2 separate regions of the Homo sapiens genome follow, and region 1 is linked to region 2. The links are contacts of gene promoters, found by promoter capture Hi-C in blood cells and fetal thymus (Javierre and others, 2016). All regions are on one chromosome and are shown on one strand. Each heading gives the region's core, a stretch centred on a gene start or on the middle of the fragment in contact. The rest is flanking DNA. Distances are from core to core; before and after follow the strand shown. Region 1 holds the start of PRDM13 (PR/SET domain 13). Region 2 holds the start of CCNC (cyclin C).

Region 1 (5,952 bases), core at 3,453-5,952, 38 kb before region 2:
TATGACACCCTACCCTAATCGTTTATAGAAGTCTTAGATAAAACCATTTCAATATTCTGTTACCTTGTACTGAACATTCATGTAAAATGAATCGTGAAAAAAAGAGAGAATAGACCTCCTGGGTTCTCTTGGTGGGTATGTTGTCTTAAATAACTTCCTTCTAACTTCAGAGCCTTTCTCTCTCTCATCACCCCTTTTGAAAGAGGGAGTTTTCAGAGTCTGCCGCAGAATGACTCAGCTCAATGCAAAGCCACATAAGCTTTTTTCTTAAAATGAGGGGGCAGTATTTTCCTCCATCTTACTATGAAATTGAAACCCACTGAAGTTAGCTAGTATTAGGAGGATAGCAGCCATCCCTATTTATTTCTTCCTCTTTCCAAGCTTTAAGCAGCATACGTTTAATATATACTTTTTTTCAGTTATCCTAACTGACATATTCTCCAGACTCTGAGATCCAAATCATGCCAAGAGTATCAAATACATTTAACAAGTGACTGCCTCCTCTTCATGTAACTCTAAGGTGGTCAAGAGTTCAAACTTCTCCAAGCTGGGGAAGTCAGGGTTCAAAATCACCCATGCCTTCTCACCTCCAGAAAAAAAAAATGTTTATTTTGACATCTGTTACCATATGATGTTTATAAGCTCAATTGGCTGAAAGGAAAACACAAGGACCGCTATTCCAGTTGCTTTTGTACTATTTGGGACTACCTAAGAAAGGGTGTTCTCTGTAGAAATGGCTGGCTTCTAAAGGTTAGTGGCCCGCCAAATTCTATAGTGGCAGATTTGAGAGTTCTCCACTATGTGGCTTTTATTATACTTCTCTTTTTACTGGAAGAAGTTGACAAGAGAATGTAATATAATGTGATGCAAGGAACAAACTATTTTAGGATAATTTGAATACTATACCTACAAAATAAACAGAATTAACTTACAGAGGACGATGATACTTTAAAGTGATTCATTGTTTTGAATAAACTTCATTCTGTGTTATTCATGAAGTGTTTCCTAATTCACATACTTGTATTGATTTCTCTAAACCTATTTCTAAAGGGATGAGATTGAGCAGGCAATTCAGGAAGACAGCATGTTAGAATATTTCACAGCATTCATTATTTTGATGTTAAATGTGTCTTTAGGAGAAATTACAGACAATTGTCAAAGAAAAAAAGCCATGGAAGCTTTGTGTGTGAAAAGGAAGTCTCCAAAACCTCAACTATTCTAGCACCTCCTAGACTTCTTTCCACAGGAAGTGTTCTTCAGTGTTCAAGGGTAGGTTTAAAAATGTTTTTCTGTTTAGTTACTGCACCTTAATTTGCATAAATCCGCTCTTGGCTTTGAAGGGATCAAATAAATCTGAGAAGAAACTGGGATACATCCCAGATTCAACTTAAGTAGGCAAGGGGAAATGAATAAATGCCACTTAAATGGAAGGGTCTCAGTACCTGCCAACTGACCAGCTGTAAGTACCGTAATACTTCTAAAATGCTGTAGAAATGCACTGCTCTCCTGGAAAGCCAGTGGAGAAGAAATGTCCATGGACTTTGTAAAAGCATTCCAGGTTTGAGTTATACTCTGTGGAACTCATGATGTAATTACTGTAACAACAACTTAAGGCTCCTTTTTTATTTTTTATTTTTATTTATTTATTTTGAGACAGGGTCTCACTTGTCACCCAGGCTGGCATGCAGTGGTAACATTACGGCTCACTGGAACCTTGACCTCCTGGGCTCAAGTGATCCTCTTGCCTCAGCATCCTGAGTAGCTAAGACTACAGGCATGTACCGCCGCACCTGGCTAATTATTTTTTTGTTGTAGAGACAGAGGTCTCACTATGTTGCCCAGGCTGGTCTCGAACTCCTAGCCTCAAGTGATCCTCCTACCTCGGCCTCCCAAAGTGCTGGGATTACAGGTGTGAGCTACCGCGCCTAATTTTTTTTATTTTAATTGAGTAAATAATGGTCTGTTTGAATATGCAACAGAAAAAGGATGGCCCCATTAAGTTCATAGAGCCTACTTTTTCCCCTGCCATTGTGAGCCAGATTGCTACTATCACTGTTATCGTTTATGGTTGATTTTAAGGAGGTAGTGGCGACCTCTCTCCTCTTTGCCTTGAAATACAGGGAATGTGAATTCCATTTTACATAGATCGAGCTATGTCTAGGGACTCGCTTCAAGACAGGAGGAGGAGGGCTGGACTTTTGCCCATCCACGCTTTTGGAATGGGTACCTTTCTCGTCGTGAGTCGGAGTCGCTGTGGTGGGGATGTCGAACCACTGAGCCAAGGAGTTAGAATACCACACTGTCAGCTCCTCCCCTGGCTGGACGTCTCGCAATGCTCGGTAGAAGATCTGGGACGCAAGGAATAGAACAGTTCAATGTCATTTCCTGGGTAATCGGTCAAAAAGCAACTGAGAAGAAAGGTTCAAATCCGGATTCTGATGCTGTGTGACCCTGGAGAAGCTACTGGAGCTCTCTGAACCTCACTTCCGTCATCCTTCAAACGGAAAAACAATAGTAACTACCTTAAAGGGTTGTCGAGACGTTTAAATGAGACGTCTAGCTAAAGTACTTTGCTCTTAATATTTTTGGCCACCGCAGGGACGGTTAGGTAGACTGAATTGGCGGTGGGGAGTGGGGGGGTGTGGAGAGAAGCCCGCAGTACCTGTCCTCCGGGTAAGTCTGCAATAGCTTCCAGAGTCTGTTCCTGGGAGTTTCTGGCTGCCCGGATTAACCCTATCCACTCCAGAGGGGAGCCCCCCGACTCGTCCACCAGCTCCCCTCTCACCATGCGCACCTGCAACACAAGCAGTGGTCGTTCTCCCCCGCACCTTGGCCAGGCCCACAACCCAAACAGAAAGTTTATCCTCCACCCCAACCCAACACAGGAAAGTGGTTGTTTTTGGTTTGGCCAGACCACTATGGGCTACTGGGAGGAGGAGAATTCCTTAGGACCTTGCTTCGGGGAGGGAGAAAGAGGAAAGTCTACCTATGCTAACAGTACTCCCACTTCCCTGCGCCCCACCTTGACGACACGGGGAGGGGAGAGGGGTGTTGAGAGCATCCTCCCTGAGTGCTTAGGCACATCTTGTACCAAGTTGTCCCCTACCCCAGCTCTCCCATTTGCAGTTCTGAGAGCAGCCGTAACACCACGGTAGAGACATTTCTAGGTCAGTCCCAGGGCCCAGAGCGTACCCCCGACAAACAAACAAAAAAATTATCTCATGCCTCCTGTATTCTGTGTGCATCGCACCTAGTTGCCTGTGAGCCCTGCAGCTAAAGTCTCGGAACAAAGCCCAAGCGGGGAAAAGCTTGCCCGCAGCTGGCAGGCCATTTAAAAGCAATTAAAACGCGTTTAAAGAGGAATGCGCGGTGGGCACCAAACCCCGCTTTAGACTGTAGTGGGGGGCGTGATTGCAGGAGGAGCGAGGTGCAAGTCCCGCTGGCTGGACACCGGAGCTTTTTACTAGAAAGCTCCAAGCAAGGCAAGCTAAAGCCAAGGAAGCCAAAGTCCTTTCTTCTACCCCAGACTTCTGCCTTCATTTCCCGGTCGCTGTTTGCCGACCTTTGGCTCCTGGGACGCCCCCAAAGCGGGCGAGTGCTATAAGTCTCTCTGGTCAGGGGTCGCGACGGTGTGTGGAGTGTGGGAGTCAAAGCTAGTGGTTTGGCCCTGGCGCCTCCCGGTTGGGCCTCTGGACTCTCAGAGCCCCGCTGCAGACGCTCTGACCCTGTGCCCCGCGCGAATGGGCGCGCCTCGCCCTTGGAGCCCGCGTCAGAGCCAGTACCTTGCTCATCCTCTCTCCATATGCCGCATACCCACAAGCCGACATCGGCAAGGGAAAAAAAAATATCTGAGGAGGTTCTAGGAACTGAGAGCCTCCCAAAGATTTTTTTTTTCAGGAAAAAAAATTACTTTAAGGCGAAATTAGGCCTCAAATTAACATATTGAAGGGCAGAAGGGAAGAAAGGGTCTCGATGCCCTGAGCCCCCAGAAAGAGGGTGCTTTTGCAGAGAGAGCTGCGGACAGCGTGCGGGGGTGGGCTTCTGGCTTCTGACTGAGGAGACCCGAGAGCGCAGGGGAAAACACAAGCTGCGAATGGTCCCGGCACCTACAGCGCTCAGTGCACCCCACCCAGGGCTGTCGCCTCTCGGCCACATCCTCTCCTCTCAGCCCGACCCCGTCCAGCTCTCACAGTTAAAGAGGCTACTTGCTCAGAATAATAGGAGTCCCCTTCCACCCGGCAGAATTAGCAGGTAACGACTCAATCACTCCCTTCCTCCACTTTCTCTCGTACCCCTTTCCCGGGTCAGGGCACTGAGAGGCGAATGGCAGTGGGCAGAGGTCTGAATGGTCAATACCTTTTTCTTAGGCCCGGGCTCCCTGCGGTCTGACAGGTACTTGCCCAGCTTGAAGGTACCAGGCACCGGTCCGAGGCGCAAGCCGGCCGGGATGCAGCAGTCGGCACTCACGCTGGTGGCTGGCGCTCTGGCGGCTCCGTGCATTGTTGCCGCCGCCACCAGGCAGGCGCTCGGGTGCTCCAGGTCCTTGGAAGGGCGCGAGTGACAGAGCTGGAGCTGCGCGCTAGCCAGAGAGCCGCGCCCCGACGTGCGTCCTCCGCCCGCGGAGTGACGCGGGCGGGCATGCACTGCGCCTTTTCAATCGGGGCGGGAGCCTTTTGGCACCGCTAGCGCAAGGGCGCGGAGTTTGGTGAGAGAGTTGCGCTGCGAAGCAGCTGCAGAGTCCCACCCGAGAGGGTCACATGGAGTGGTTCCCTCAGCCCCCTGCATAATCGAGGCCGCTGAATGGCTAGCACACAATGGTCCAGGCGACCTTCCCATTCCTAAAAATCCAATTTGTCAAGGGCGAAGAAAAGGCACTGGTGAATCAAAGGTCCGGCGGGACCATTAATCCTCAGCATGGGGTATTGTCCTCCAGACAGTTACGATATTTTAAGTGACAAATCCACTGTATAATTTCTCCATAAATTTTACTTCCTTTTATTGTTCCCCGACAAACCAGTTTTGGGAAATAAGTGACTACTTTAAGTCTACTTGGCTGATTCCTTTGAGCCTTGATCTACTTCAAAGATTTTTAATTCTCTCCCCTTGGCTTTATTGTAAAGGAGATTAAACAAAGAGATGGAGACTGTTTGGAGGACTTGTTAACTACTATTGATTTCTGGCGTGTGCCATACAGAAATTAGGCAGGTACTTGATGGGAAAACACCAGAAAATACCTACACTTTTTAAATAACAACCATATTACCATTTCAGGGGATTGGGTTCAGGCCAGTCGTCTATTCAGAACCGCTTTAATTCTCACTTCTGTCCCATTTCGTCCGAAAATATGATGAAGCCTCCAGACCAAGTTGAGAAGGGGAGGTCAACTGCTCATCACTTTTCTCGGGCACACCCCGGGCCTGCACTTTCTCTGGAGAATGGGAAACAGCCCCAGAACCAACAGTTTCGAATGGGGATCCTGCGCCCCGGTCCGCAGCCCAGGGTTGAAGAGGAAGAAGTTCTACCAGTGGGTTATTGATCACGTCCCCTAGAAGATGTCCTTGGACTAACTTCCCTAAAACCAGCAACCTGGACTTTTCTATTAAAAAAAAAACAGTAAACAAAAACGAAAATCACCGCAATCTGTTAAAGGTTGTAGAGAAGAGGGGCGAGGTGGGCGTTTGGGACAACTCTTTCTTACACCTACTTTGTGAACTAACAAGACGTTGTACTTCAGAGTTAAACCGGAGAGCTACCCGTTTTCTTTTAGGGAAGCCTCCAATTGGCGTGAGAACATTTATTTTCATAAATAGTAGCCAAGTAATCAAGTTCATCAGATATTTGTGATTTCTGCCGGCACCTGCCGCGTGCTGCTAGTTCTGAGCACAGCTCCCCAAATCCTATGCAGCCAGCACCGGAGCCCGATGCAGTTCTTCCAAGAGAGGCCTGAGTGGT
Region 2 (5,385 bases), core at 74-2,573:
AGGTGGGCGGATCACGAGGTCAGGAAATGGAGACCATCCTGGCCAACATGGTGAAACCCTGTCTCTACTAAAAATACAAAAATTAGCTGGGCGTGGTGGTGTGAGCCTGTAGTCCCAGCTACTTGGGAGGCTGAGGCAGGAGAATCGCTTGAACCTGGGAGGCAGAGGTTGCAATGAGCCTAGATAGCGCCACTGCACTCCAACCTGGGCGACAGAGCAAGACTCCGTCTCAAAAAAAAAAAAAAAAAAAAACCGCCTGATCCAGGCCGGGCCTGGTAGCCCACGCCTGTTAATCCCAGCATTTTGGGAGGCTGAGGCTGACGGATCACCTGAGGTTAGGAGTTCCAGACCAGCCTAGCGAAATCCCCTCTCCACTAAAAATACAAAGATTAGATGGACGTGGTGGCACGCGCCTGTAATCCCTGTAATCCCAGCTACCTGGGAGGCTGAGGCAGCAGAATCATTTGAACTGGAAAGGCAGAGGTTGCTGTGAGCCGAGATTGTGCCACTGCATTCCATCCTGGGTGACAGACCCAGACTCCGTCTCAAAAGTAAAAAACAGGCAGGGTGCGGTGGCTTACGCCTGTAATCCCAGCACTTTGGGAGGTTGAGGAGGGCGGATCACGAGGTCAGGAGTTTGAGACTATCCTGGCCAACATGGTGAAACCCTATCTCTACTAAAAATACAAAAATTAGCTGGGCATGGTGGTGCGCGCCTGCAGTCCCAGCTACTCGGGAGGCTGAGGCAGGAGAATCGCTTGAACTCCTGGAGGCGGAGCTTGCAGTGAGCCGGGATCGTGCCACTGCACTCCAGCCTGGAGACAGAGCAAGACTCCGTCTCAAAATAAATAAATAAATAAAGTAAAAAAAAAAAAGGAACACTTGATCCCTGAGAACAAAGTCATCTTCATTTATTTCTCTTTCCAATCACAGGAAAAATAAGTCACAAAACCTTGTACTTTATTACAATGCCACATTGTTCTGTTTTTGAAGTCCTGGAAGAGGTAATAACAGAACCCCGTATCTGAGCCACTTCGCCTAGGTTAGACCCACTCAGCAACTCCCGTGCTGAAGACAGGAGACCGAGCGGCTTGGGCCCCCGGCCAGAATTCTCAAGACGCTCTCGCGAGAGCCTTCCAACCGCCGCGAGCTCTCGTGAACACTAGTTCTCTTCAATCTCAGCACCTCCAAGGGTCAGCACCTCCCCTCCGGCTCCCTCCGCTACCGCGGGCCGGAACTTTTGTCGATAGGAACGGGTTTGCACAGTTGAGTGTTGTCGGCCGGCGTGAAGGAGACTAGGGGGCCATCCTCTTCCTTTCGCCGTCGCCGCCGCGGAGCGGAGTCGAGCCGAGCTGATTTGATCGAGGAGCGCGGTTACCGGACGGGCTGGGTCTATGGTCGCTCCGCGGGCCGCTCCGCCGGCTGGTGCTTTTTTATCAGGGCAAGCTGTGTTCCATGGCAGGGAACTTTTGGCAGAGCTCCCACTAGTAAGCGATCTTCCGTCTTCTCACCTGGGGCCGGTTTTTGGGGGAGCTGTGAGGACGGGGCCTGTGACTCCCCTGGGCCTGGATCCCAGCTCAGTTCCGAGTGCCGGGGTCCTCACGGGAGACCGCAGCGGTCAGAATCAAGATGCGCTTTTCTGAGGCGACTCCCCTCCCCGCCCCCAGCCCCAGTTTCGGGGAGGGAAGGATCTGTGAGGGGGAGGGGTGGGAGAGAGTTTCGTCTCCCGGGAAGGAACGTTTCGGAGTTTAATTTCGGATTCTTGGTTTAGCTAGGCCGCGGGGGGTCGGATAGAGTGGGCACAGGTACGGGAAGTGTGACTCAGCTCAAGACTGTGAGGCTACCTGTTCAGGACAGTTGTGGCGTGCTTTTACCTGGGGTTTCTTCGGGTGATCGGCGTCGTGGTCTTTTGTCATTCACTGTATATCTTGAGTGGATTTAATATTATGAGGAGAGGAGAGAGTCTGGCTTGTTTCTGCCTACTAACCGCTTCTTGCGCGTACTTTATGTCTAGATGGAGTTTTATATTGATAAGGTATAGGGCAGGTGCCCTCTAAATTTATCCATTTCATTAGCCTGTGCTTTATATTTTGTTTTAAAGGCCTATTTTTCCAGTGACTTTGTTTACCTGTTTCTTTAACCTTTTTCATGAATAAGTTCTTGTTTCTGTCAGTGACCATGTGAGAGCTAGAATAATATTAAAAACATTTATCCCTAAATACATTTGTTTAAGCAGGCAGGAAGGTGCGTTATGGGGTAAATTGAACATTTGAGTAGGCTTTCCACTGTATAGTTGAAAGATGAACAGAATTTGACAAGGTATCTTGGTATAATTTTTTATGCTAAGAAAGCATTAGTAAGTAATTTAAATTTCGATTCTGTGAATAGGATCTGTTCCTGATGTTCATTTTTTAGCCCTTTGCAAAGAGAAAAAAAGAAACAATGAACTCAGTAACCTATTTAAGGAAAAGCAGGTTTTCCTCTTGCTATAAAGTGATTCTGTGGAGATGACATGTTAAAGAAGCTTTACCACTGATCATATGTGTGTGTGTGTATATATATGTGTGTGTGTGTATGTATATATATATGTGTGTGTATATATGTTGCATTGTTTTCACACACTGAAATATTGCTTGGGCAAAATTAAAGTATCGAAAGTTTAGGTATTGGAGTTAGAGCTCCTGAAAAAAAAAGTTTAGGTAGTGGAGAAGAGATATTCTGATAAACTCTGAAAGAAGCTGAGAGAATTGACAAGTAGCTGACTGTTGATTTTTCAGTTTTTCAACTTAAAAAAAAAAGATCCTGCCTTATTTTCAATAGTGTTCTCATTATGCTTTCATTTATTCATAGCATTCTAAAAATATGTTTTCACTTTTCAAATATAAAATTATTATAAAGTTAAGTGTACTTCTTTGAAACTATTCTTTTCTCCCAATTCAAATAGTCCTAAAAGAAGGGACCACTTTGCCTTGCTCAAATCCCTTGAGCAGTCATGGAGTTTCTTATCTGGAAAAGGTAACGAGTGTGGAAGACAAGACAATTCTGGAAAAACAAACGAAAAGATTATGAAAGGCCATTGTCTTAGGTGAATTTGGTGAAAGAGGGCAATTGATATTAAATATGCTATATTTCATGCTTCTAAGATGCACGTTTTCACACTTTAACATCTTTGAAATCAGCATGGCAGTTGCTTTCATAGCATATGAAATAATGATGAATCCTAGATGTAATCTTAAATTTGATGAAATGCAGTATTTATAAAGTTTTTTAGTTTATTCTCCATACAGAGTTCTGTGAGGAAAACTCATAAAATGTTTGTGAAATTTATCTTTTTAAAAACATAAAATGACTCTGTGGGGATGAAATTAATTAGCAAACCACAGTGTAGTTGAGGTAGAACAAAACACAGTCTGTGACCAAAATGAACTAGAAGGGCACTAAGTATTTGCTGGTTAATTGAATGCATTAATGAACAAGTAACAAAAATAAAAACTACAAAACTAACTGTGGATACTTTATTGGTATCCACAGGAAACTGAAAATACAGTTACTTACTATCTAGAAAATAACATCATAATAGTACCATATATGGAATGTAACCAAAGCTTGAATGTATTAGAAAATCAATATCCTGAATAATTGAGAGATAATAGAAATATTCTATTTAATAATATTAAGAAGGAAACATGAAATAAACCTAAAGAAACAGAAAGACTTAAAATAGATAACGATGCTAATATATTAAAAGGAAAAAAATTATAAAAGCTAATTCTTAGAGTAAATAAAAACAGTAGACCAAACTACTGCTAGTTAAATCAGGGGAAAAAGGAATGATACAAAAATACAAAATTAGGAATGAGAAAAGTAAACCCAGGGGTACTTTTGGGTTATCTCCAGGGTTTTAAATTTGAAAGCCAAAGCAAGTTAAGAGTATTACCCAAGAGCTATGTGTTATTTCATGGGTAAATACTTTCCATCTTTCAAGAGAATCTCCTTTTGAAATTGTTCCATTTCATACAGAAAGAAGAAAAGCTTTCTAATTCTCTTTATGAAGCCATGATAACACAGAAAAATCTAGCAAAGGGAACACTAAAAACAGTCTCACTTTTGAATATTAATGCAAACATTGTAAATGAATTATTACCAAATGCAGTCTAACATTACATTGAAAGTATAAAACATGACATTGGATTTTATTATAGAAATATAGTCAATATTAAGAAATCAAGCAGTAAAGGTATTAAAAAACTAATACAATTCAACATTTATCCTTGACTAAAGCTCTTACTAAAACAGAAATAGGATGCTTCCTTAACATGAAAAACATAAAGCATCAGCAGTGGTGAAACATTGAGATAATTAGGGTGCCTATTTAAGATTTTACCAATATGCTAGTCAATACAGTTGATACAAAGGAGATATAGAAAGAATGACAAAACAGGGACAAAATTATCAATACGTGGAAATAAAATTAATGAGAAAACTCAGTTAATTGAGAAGTTATTAGAAATAATAAAGGTTTAGGAAGGTGACCAGTTATAAAATGCAAAAATAAAAGCTTTTTAAAAATGGATAGAGAAGTATAATTTACATTAGCAACAGAAAATATACAGAGGGAAAAATATAAAGAAATATACAGAACCTGTAGGAAGAAAACTTTAAAAGTCCATAGTGGCACATACAGATTTTAATAGAGTTTGAATTCTTGGTAAGATGTCATTTCTCCCCATATTGATCTTTAAATGTAATGTAATCACAAAATTTGAATGGATATTCTTTTTTAGGACTCGACATAATGCTTCTAAAGTTTAGGTCTTAGAATAATTGTGATAGAATAGTCAGAAATTTTCAGAAGAATAGAAGGGAGTATTTTTCATATCACCTATTAATTACTTAATTTTCTATGTTTTAAAGTAGCACAGCATATGAAGAAGAAAAAAATAGGAAATTATAAAGAAGATCCAAGTATAATGATAGAATTATAAATCAGGAAATACCTTAGCACATTTGGATAAGCATTTGACAACATATTTAGCTGGATCCCTGCTTTATACTCTGTACCAAAATAAATTCCAGATGGATCATAAATTGAAGGAAAAAAGCTCTTAAGGGTATTAGAAAATATGGGTGAATTGTTTTTTATCGTTTTGAATCAGGAAAGGCCTTGCTATGCCTGACAAACATGAAAGTAAAAGGTAGATTTAAGTAAGTGATTCAGATTTCTGTATTACAAATAAATACTGAGAGATATTTAAACTTGGGAGAAATTTTGCACTTATTTGACAAACAAATGATTTATTATTTATACTATACAAATTTTAGATCAGAAGAATCTCTTAATCATTAAAAAAATCGGTAATCCCATTAGAAAAATGGTCATATTAG

The links. Contacts are between HindIII fragments. The CHiCAGO score rates a contact against its expected background, and 5 or more counts as called.
Region 1: a contact is called between the fragment with the promoter of PRDM13 here and the fragment with the promoter of CCNC in region 2, in 6 of 17 cell types (naive CD8 T cells, monocytes, activated CD4 T cells and 3 more). The highest score is 7.5, in naive CD8 T cells.

What each region holds. Positions count from the first base shown.
Region 1 is chr6:99,605,583-99,611,534 of GRCh38, reverse strand. It overlaps PRDM13 (PR/SET domain 13), which reads right to left and starts at 4,702. Exons shown (of 4, transcript NM_021620.4): 1 at 4,357-4,702; 2 at 2,663-2,794; 3 at 2,228-2,348. The coding sequence starts at 4,500. The HindIII fragment of the contact is 6,161 bases long and covers 3,311-5,952 here.
Region 2 is chr6:99,564,598-99,569,982 of GRCh38, reverse strand. CCNC (cyclin C) reads left to right here and starts at 1,323. Exons shown (of 12, transcript NM_005190.4): 1 at 1,323-1,487. The coding sequence starts at 1,456. It also overlaps the pseudogene TSTD3. RefSeq lists enhancers at 966-1,015, 1,136-1,425, 1,546-1,625. The HindIII fragment of the contact is 11,578 bases long and covers 1-2,526 here.